3 separate regions of the Homo sapiens genome follow, and all the other regions are linked to region 3. Evidence: promoter capture Hi-C in 16 types of primary human blood cells and fetal thymus (Javierre and others, 2016). All regions are on one chromosome and are shown on one strand. The core of a region is centred on a gene start or on the middle of the fragment in contact, and the rest is flanking DNA. Distances in the headings are between cores, read along the strand shown.

The links. Contacts are between HindIII fragments. The CHiCAGO score rates a contact against its expected background, and 5 or more counts as called.
Region 1: a fragment that was not itself captured here is called in contact with the fragment with the promoter of CCNB1 in region 3 in 1 of 17 cell types (neutrophils); the score reaches 10.2 in neutrophils.
Region 2: a contact is called between a fragment that was not itself captured here and the fragment with the promoter of CCNB1 in region 3, in 1 of 17 cell types (non-activated CD4 T cells). The highest score is 6.1, in non-activated CD4 T cells.

Annotation. Positions count from the first base shown.
Region 1 is chr5:73,567,491-73,570,361 of GRCh38, forward strand. UTP15 (UTP15 small subunit processome component) reads left to right here. Exons shown (of 13, transcript NM_032175.4): 3 at 745-837; 4 at 930-1,114; 5 at 2,007-2,185. Among named protein-coding and RNA genes, the nearest start is that of UTP15, 3.2 kb to the left of the region's middle. The HindIII fragment of the contact is 3,269 bases long and covers 1-2,871 here.
Region 2 is chr5:65,673,217-65,675,960 of GRCh38, forward strand. The region is part of intron 8 of SGTB (small glutamine rich tetratricopeptide repeat co-chaperone beta); the gene reads right to left. Among named protein-coding and RNA genes, the nearest start is that of SGTB, 48 kb to the right of the region's middle. The HindIII fragment of the contact is 2,505 bases long and covers 22-2,526 here.
Region 3 is chr5:69,165,664-69,168,628 of GRCh38, forward strand. It overlaps CCNB1 (cyclin B1), which reads left to right and starts at 1,487. Exons shown (of 9, transcript NM_031966.4): 1 at 1,487-1,620; 2 at 2,245-2,415; 3 at 2,510-2,680. The coding sequence starts at 1,600. RefSeq lists enhancers at 1,167-2,132, 1,513-1,742. The HindIII fragment of the contact is 10,262 bases long and covers 1-2,965 here.

The DNA.
Region 1 (2,871 bases), core at 119-2,618, 4.4 Mb after region 3:
CATATGTTATACTCTGGATGCTCTAACAGAGAATTATTAACTGAAAACCATCTATCAGCAGCTTATAGTTTGGGCAGATAATTTGATATCTATTTTTTCTTGGAATTTTATGTAAAAGTCCATACTGCTTAATCAGATTAACCATACAAATGCCTAGCACAGAACAGATGATCAATCAATGCCAAATGAATTAAATTTTAAAATTTGAATCTCATATGTGTAAAGATGTTTATTGAAGTATTGCTTGTAATAGTAGAAATCTTGAAAAACCCATGTCTATTAGTAGTGGACTGGTATAGTAAATTACAGTGTGCCCTTATAATGGATGGTAAGTCTATTGCTCCTATGAAAGCTAATATGTGTTACTAAGTGAAAAGAAGCAAGATGTGGAACAGCCTACATGGTATGATTATCTTTTTGTTATTTTAAAAGTACAAGTACGTGGTTATTGTATGCTGGTGTAGACATGATAACTTTTTTTTTCTGGTAGAAATCACAGTAAACTCAATAGCTGAAGAGACAGAGTGGGGTGTGGCTTTCTAACCATATGTTTATTTCAGTGGCAACAAGAATAGTCTGGGTGATGAGATATGTACCTTTTTTGCTTTCTTTGTAATTTTATGTTAAATACAACTTAAGAAATGTTACTAAGAACAAAGAGAAACGGTCTGTAAGAAATTATGTAATGCATAAATAGGTCTTACCAGTGGTAACTCTGTTAACACACTATTATTTTTTATTAAGACCCCTGTTCAGATTAAGGAATTTGGTGCAGTTTCAAAAGTAGACTTTTCTCCTCAGCCTCCATATAATTATGCTGTCACAGCTTCCTCAAGAGTAAGTATAATATTAAATTTCTTTATTTTTCTTTTGTATAGTTTACTACTGATCTTGAGCCATCTGGTGAAATACTGTTTTTCATCTTGTAGATTCACATTTATGGCCGATACTCCCAAGAACCTATAAAAACCTTTTCTCGATTTAAAGACACAGCATACTGTGCTACTTTTCGACAAGATGGTAGATTGCTTGTGGCTGGCAGTGAAGATGGTGGAGTTCAACTTTTTGATATAAGTGGGAGGGCTCCCCTCAGGCAGTTTGAAGGCCATACAAAGTAAGAGACAGTTGGTTTCTGTGTGTTCTGGTTTTATTTTGTTGTAAGCTCTTTTTTTCTCTGGACTTTGGTTAAAAAGATAGAGATCAGTTTTATGGAGATTATTTGCCTATAGGTACTATATTTCCTGATTGTTCTAAGAGTGCTTAACTTGGGTTCCGTGGTCCAGTTTCATGGGGCTTATGAATTCCCTAGAATTGTATGTGATATTTTAGGAAATACACGTTTATCTAGGGAGCTACTCTGTAGCTTTTGGTTAACTTTAGTGGGGTCTGTGGCCCAGCTGAGATTATGAATTACTGACCTGAAGACAACCTTACAGCTGGTAATGACAGCTCTATAGGCCTGTACTGTCTTAGAGGCTCTTATGTTGAAGTCAAGTAGGAAGGTGGATTTTCTTCTTGAATTTATAGTGTTTTGCCCCTTAATAAATTAAGTGGCCATCACAATTTTATATTATAACTTTGTTTTCAGGATTGCCAATGTCCGTGCTGAAATTTGTTAAAATTTAACAGAAATTTATGTAACATGATTCTATTTAGTGGTAAATCTCTTTAGAGTTTTTTAAAGAACTTTTTGAAATTTTAAAAATTAAAGTGCCTTTGCTTCCATATTCAGCAGCTAAGTGGAATTGTTTATATACTAGAAAATATAATTTTAAGGCTATCCTTTAATTTTTTTTAACTTTACAATATAGGAGTATTTACACTTCTTAATTGGTTTGGGGGCAAACACTTGTAAGTTTTCTCTTTCTTTCATGATTTCCCCCTATGAAGACTCCCTGAAACTCAGCTGCTTTTTTTTTAATCTGAGAAAAAGGAGCATTTTATGTTAGAAGGTATCAGAAAAATAATTTTCTTGCTTTTTAATATACTGACCTTCAATCTTTCAGAGCAGTTCATACAGTAGATTTTACAGCTGACAAATATCACGTGGTCTCTGGGGCTGATGATTATACAGTTAAATTATGGGATATTCCAAACTCCAAAGAAATTTTGACATTTAAAGAACACTCTGATTATGTGAGGTGTGGATGTGCTAGCAAACTTAATCCGGATCTCTTTATAACAGGTTGGTGAACTCTATTCCCTCCTGAAGCAAATAATCTCACGGGGATGTACTTTAATGTTGCTATGGGACTCTTTTGGGATGGAGGGGTTTAAATTTTTTTTATAAAGGAATATGTTTCTGATTAATTCTTCAGTTTTTAAATTAATTTTTATGTATGTATGTTTGCATTTATTTTCAGACAGGGTCTCACTCTGTTGCCCAGGCTGGAGTGCAGTGATGTGACCATAGCTCACTGCATCTGCTACCTCCTGGGCTCAAGTGATCCTCCCACATAAGCCTCCCAAGTAGCTGGGACTACAGGTGCCCACCACCACGTCCAGCTACTTTGTGTATTTTTTTGTAGAGACGGTTTTGCCATGTTGCCCAGGCTGGTCTCGAACTCCTGGGCTCAAGTGATCCACCTACCTCAATTTCCTCCCGGAGGACTGGGATTACAAGTGTGAGCCACCATGCCTGGCTTCCAATTGTTTTTTATTTTCTTATTCTTCTTTTGTTGATTGTTCATGTCTTCCAAATGTGTTTGGAAAAATCAGGCTGTCTTGAAAACATAATAGACTCTCAGAACTGTAATGTATAGTACCCTGCCTCAAGCAGCCAAGAAACAAAGAGTGCAGTTTAGCCTTTGTGGGTGCCTTTACAAAGATTTCCAGATGATTCAGTAGTGACAGTAGTCCAAAGAAAGAAAT
Region 2 (2,744 bases), core at 24-2,523, 3.5 Mb before region 3:
GTGTAACAATCAAATACATAAAGCTTCATTTACAGGTAAAACTTCTCCCTTCCTAGCATGGGCCTGCTACAGACTGACCGGTTGTAGTAGAAAAGAGGCACCATTGACTGCTTTGTTTCCTATAGTAGCGGTCCCCAACCCCTGGGCCACAGACTGTTAGGAACCAGGCTGCACAGCAGCAGGTAAGCGGTGGGCGAGCAAGCATTACTGCCTGAGCTCCACCTCCTGTCAGATCAGCTGCAGCATTAGATTCTCATAGGAGCAAGAACCCTATTGTGAACTGCGCATGTGAAGGACCTAGGTTGAGTGCTCCTCAAGAGAATCTAACGCTCCTCTCCCCATCCTGCCCCTACCCCCTACACCCGGTATGGTCCATGGAAAAACTGTCTTCCATGAAACCAGTCCCTGTTACAAAAAGGTTGGGGACCGCTGTCCTATAGGGCTATTTTTTTTTTTTGAGATGAAGTTTCACTCTGTCACCCAGGCTGGAGTGCAATGGCATGACCTCAGCTCACTGCAACCTCTGCCTCCCGGAGTCAAGTGATTCTCCTGCCTCAGCCACCCAAGTAGCTGGGATTACAGGCATGCACCACCATGCCCAGCTAATTTTTGTATTTTTAGTAGAGACGGGGTTTCGCCAGGTTGGCCAGGCTGGTCTGGAACTCCTGACCTCAAGTGCTCCGCCCATCTTAGCCTCCCAAAGTGCTGGGATTACAGGTGTGAGCCAGCACACCAAGGCCTATAGTGCTTCTTTATCCTGTAGTACTTCCAGTCCTCTTCCCTCAGCTTGCTGATTAAGAGTTGTGGCCCTCCAGGTTGAGGGTTAAATGGAGGGAAAGGTGAAAGGAGCAGCAAAGTTCTTATTTGATGACTGGTATTATCTTACTAGTTTTGCATTGGTGCTTTTTGAGTTTGCAAGGTATTCAAAAACTACTGTGGTTCTCTTATGGGGTACTTTCTCATGTTCTTCAGACACTTCTCCTTTCCCTAGGCCCTGGAGATTTCTTACCTATTCTTTGAAAAGGGTAATTTACCCTCTGGATGGATGCTATGACTTTCCCTTCAGTCTTAGGTTCTTGGCAGTCCTCCAGAGATTCTCTGTGTTGGGATCCTGTCACACTTCCAGGAAAGCCTCTTGAACATATTCAGACACACTCTCTCACAATTGTGTGTGCTCACCTTGGTCCACAGGAAACACCTCTGCTCCACTCTCATCAGTACAGTAACTGCCCAAACCACACAGCTAATTCTGCCACTGGCTATCCAGTTGAACTATCAGGTAGAAAGTCTCTGTACCAGAAAAGCCCTTTCTCAGTGAGGGCTTGAGATGAGAGCAAGCCTCCCTAATTCCTTCATATAGGGAGCCCTAAAACTCTAATAGCTCTCTCCAAAAATCATGTTTTAATTTCCATCAACCTGGCCTTTTTTATGAGTCACAAAACATGTTTTTTATCCCCATCTTTTGCAACTCCTACATGGTGGTCTCACACCTTATTTTGGTACATAGCAGCTTGGAGCCTAAGCCAAATCTGAAACTAAAAGAATTCCATTTTTCACATCTTGTTACAATGCCATAACCTGAGTCCTAGAATGGGTAACCATTCTTAAAAAAAAAAATGAAGTCACAAGATCTACAAAACATGTATTTGCTAGCATGGTAAGAAGGCTGAAATTTGATAAGGGAAAAATAAAAACTACCAGTTGCTAAAAAGACTTATCTCACTGGGAATGAGTCATCTGTGCATTTCAGTTCAACAGAAGATTTAATGGATGCAAGACACATTTTTTGAAGGAAACAAAAGATGAATAAAAACTGATTCCTGCCTTCCAAGGGCATATCATGGATAGAATAATTCTCATCCAAAGTATACAGTCACCCCAGGAGCTTGATATGCCCTGGTAACATCCTAAACCCACTAAATCAAAGTTACCACATATTGGACCAGAGCGTGTATGTTCTCAAAAAGGCCCATACATTATTTTGTTGTTTTGTAAGAATAGAAGACAAACACATGAGATATCTATATCTATATCTATCTATCTATATCAAATAAACTCTAAAGATAGAAAACAAGGCAGACAATGCTGAGGGGCAAGCTAGGGAACCACAATGGCCAAATACTCAAACTGCAGATGTTAGATATCTTCCTAGGACCACTTTTATGTAAGAGAGTAGTTTTTAACCTTTCATATATTGGCAGATTCCTGTGCCAATCTCATGAAAAATATGATGCTCTCCCTGGAAAAATGCACACATACACATGTACACAGATTTTTATATATAATTTTGGAAAAATCCATGAGCTTCCTAAAGTCCATCCATGGCTTTCCCACAGGAGGTACATGGACACGTTAAGAACCCTGCCATTCAGCCAGAGAGAAAGGCCAGGCCACCTACAAAGGGAAGCCCATCAGACTAACAGCAGATCTCTCAGCAGAAACCCTATAAGCCAGAAGAGATTGGGGGCCCATATTCAACATCCTTAAAAGAATTTCCAACCCAGAATTTCATATCTGGTCAAACTAAGCTTCATAAGCAAAGGAGAAATAAGATCCTTTTCAGACAAGCAAATGCCGAGGGAATTCATTACTACCAGACCTGCCTTACAAGAGTTCCTGAAGGAAGCACTAAATATGGAAAGGAAAAATTGTTACCAGCCACTACAAAAACACACTGAAGTATACAGACCAGTGACACTGTGAAGCAACCACATAAGTTTGCAAAATAACCAGCTAGCATCATG
Region 3 (2,965 bases), core at 237-2,736:
TGAGGCAGGAGAATGGAGTGAACCCTGGAGGTGGAGGTTGCAGTGAGTCGAGATCGCACCACTGCACTCCAGCCTGGGCGACAGATCGAGACTCCGTCTCAAAAAAAAGTAAAAAAAAAAATTTTTAAACTGGAACACAGAGGATAAGTAATCCTGCTTCGCCCCTTGCCTCTCGCCCCTGCATGGGGCGAGGAAGGATTGATCAAACCCAGAAAGACTGAGTGAGAATGGATGTTGAACACAGAACTGAAGGATGAATGGGAGTTACCTGAATAGAACCCAGGGGCTTGAATGCAAGAAGAGGCGGGCATTCCAGGCAGAGGAGAGCAAGGGTAAGGGCCCCACGGGAGGCATTCGAGTAGGAGGGTGAACTATGATGACAGAAGACTCAATAACGATCCAAAGAAACCAAATGATTGGGCGCCTTCTTTCGGATCCGTGACTTCCAGCGCCAGGAGTCTCTATTGGCTCTTATACCGTTGCTCTATGGGATAGCAATGTTTTTGTCCTTCAGCCTCCCCTCCAATTGCTGAGCTGCTGGTGTGTTTTGAGGAGTAGAAGGCAAAAAGAACCCTCTTGTTTTTCTTTGGATCTAGAGAGAATCTGAGCAAATGACAAAGCAAATGGGGTAAAATGTCTTTTTGTTTAGTTTTTCCTGATTTTCCCATGAGAGGCAAATACATGTTAAGGATAGTTGAATCTGAGTAAAGGGCATAGAAATATTCCTTACAAGATTTTTGTTGGCAACTGGTCTAAGTATGAAATTATTTCCAAATAGAAAGCTAAAACAAACAAAACAATTGGCCTTGGGAAACTGGACAATCTTGAAGTAATCAAGTAATATTGTTAAGGGACAATCAGTGTTGTGAAAACAACACGGATACACCCCCTCCCTCCCCCTCAAAAAAAAAAACCCTAAATTCAGTTCCCCCGTTGCTAATGTGTGACCCTGGCAAAGTCATCTAAGTCGCTGAGCTTCAGTTCCTCCAACCCAGAGAGTTGTTGCAACGATCAAATGAAAGAATGTCTATTAAAGCCTTTCATGAACTATATTATTGCTGCTACCGTAGAAATGGAAAGTGTGCAACACTAGATCCAAAACTACTTTTGACACTTCTGAGACTGTGGCCGCGCCTCTGTCACCTTCCAAAGGCCACTAGGCCTTTCCTGAGCTGGCATTGGCAACGCACACTCTTGCCCGGCTAACCTTTCCAGGTGGGCGGCGCACTGGCTTCACTGCTCTCCAGGTGGCCGCTGCAGCTGCCCGAGAGCGCAGGCGCAGAGGCAGACCACGTGAGAGCCTGGCCAGGCCTTCCGGCCTAGCCTCACTGTGGCCCCGCCCCTCTCGAACGCCTTCGCGCGATCGCCCTGGAAACGCATTCTCTGCGACCGGCAGCCGCCAATGGGAAGGGAGTGAGTGCCACGAACAGGCCAATAAGGAGGGAGCAGTGCGGGGTTTAAATCTGAGGCTAGGCTGGCTCTTCTCGGCGTGCTGCGGCGGAACGGCTGTTGGTTTCTGCTGGGTGTAGGTCCTTGGCTGGTCGGGCCTCCGGTGTTCTGCTTCTCCCCGCTGAGCTGCTGCCTGGTGAAGAGGAAGCCATGGCGCTCCGAGTCACCAGGGTGAGCCGCTTCGGACTGCGAACTAACGCGGCCTTCTTAGCTGCTGCCTGCTCTCCCTGCCTCGCCTGCGGGAGCCTCCCGAGCGGGAGAGGGCCGCAGGAGCGATTTGGGGAGGAAGGTGGGAGGGGACTCACCAAGAGAGCGCCGAGGTGGGCCCAGGCCTGGTGAGAGAGTGTGGGGGACGATGGATGGAGGGAGGAAGGTGAGAAAGAGAACTGGACGGATATTGGATAAATGTTTTGGGGAGGTGGAGAGTCGACTGGGAACCTTTTGAAAAAGTGATAGAGGGTCCCTGAGTGGGCCCGCCAGCAACTCTGTAACCCCCTTCCCAGAGAGAAGGTGTCTGCAATTGGAGGCTTTTTCGGTTTCCTTTCAAATGTAAATTCTCGGTATTTTAGGGCTGGCCAGGACTAATCAGGGAATCCCTCAATTGGTAAATGTAGAGGTCGGCGGAAACTGACTTGTCACGGCCGCAGAGTAGACTCTGGGACCCATGTTTTCCCTCGGAACCCATTTTTAGTCGGCTTTCTTTCTGGGAACTTCTCCTTGTGCCCCACCTTAATTAACCCTTGACTTACTCGAGCCTTCGTGGATCAGCTCTTAAAGTGGTCTTGCTTCTTTCAGAACTCGAAAATTAATGCTGAAAATAAGGCGAAGATCAACATGGCAGGCGCAAAGCGCGTTCCTACGGCCCCTGCTGCAACCTCCAAGCCCGGACTGAGGCCAAGAACAGCTCTTGGGGACATTGGTAACAAAGTCAGTGAACAACTGCAGGCCAAAATGCCTATGAAGAAGGTAACTCTCTTCCTGACCTAACTTCTGTAAGAGCCCGCCTTCCAACTGTGGCCTTTGATGCAGAAACATTTCATTCTCTCTGTTTCATCTACAGGAAGCAAAACCTTCAGCTACTGGAAAAGTCATTGATAAAAAACTACCAAAACCTCTTGAAAAGGTACCTATGCTGGTGCCAGTGCCAGTGTCTGAGCCAGTGCCAGAGCCAGAACCTGAGCCAGAACCTGAGCCTGTTAAAGAAGAAAAACTTTCGCCTGAGCCTATTTTGGTAAACTTATTCTTACCATTGTAGAGTCTGTTGATTATTTCTTGTCCCTTATTTCACTGATACATGCAAGAGCATTCAAATGAATAGTAATATTAATACCATTTATTGAGTGCTTAGCATGAGGCAAGCTCTGCCTAACATTTTACATGCATTAACTCACATAATCTTTACACGTACTCTCTGAGGTATTGTCACCTCTACTATTTAAATCATGGCTTTAGAGAGGTTATGTCAGGGTCACACAGGTAAGTGGCCCATATGGGATTCAAGCTCAGGCTGTCTGGC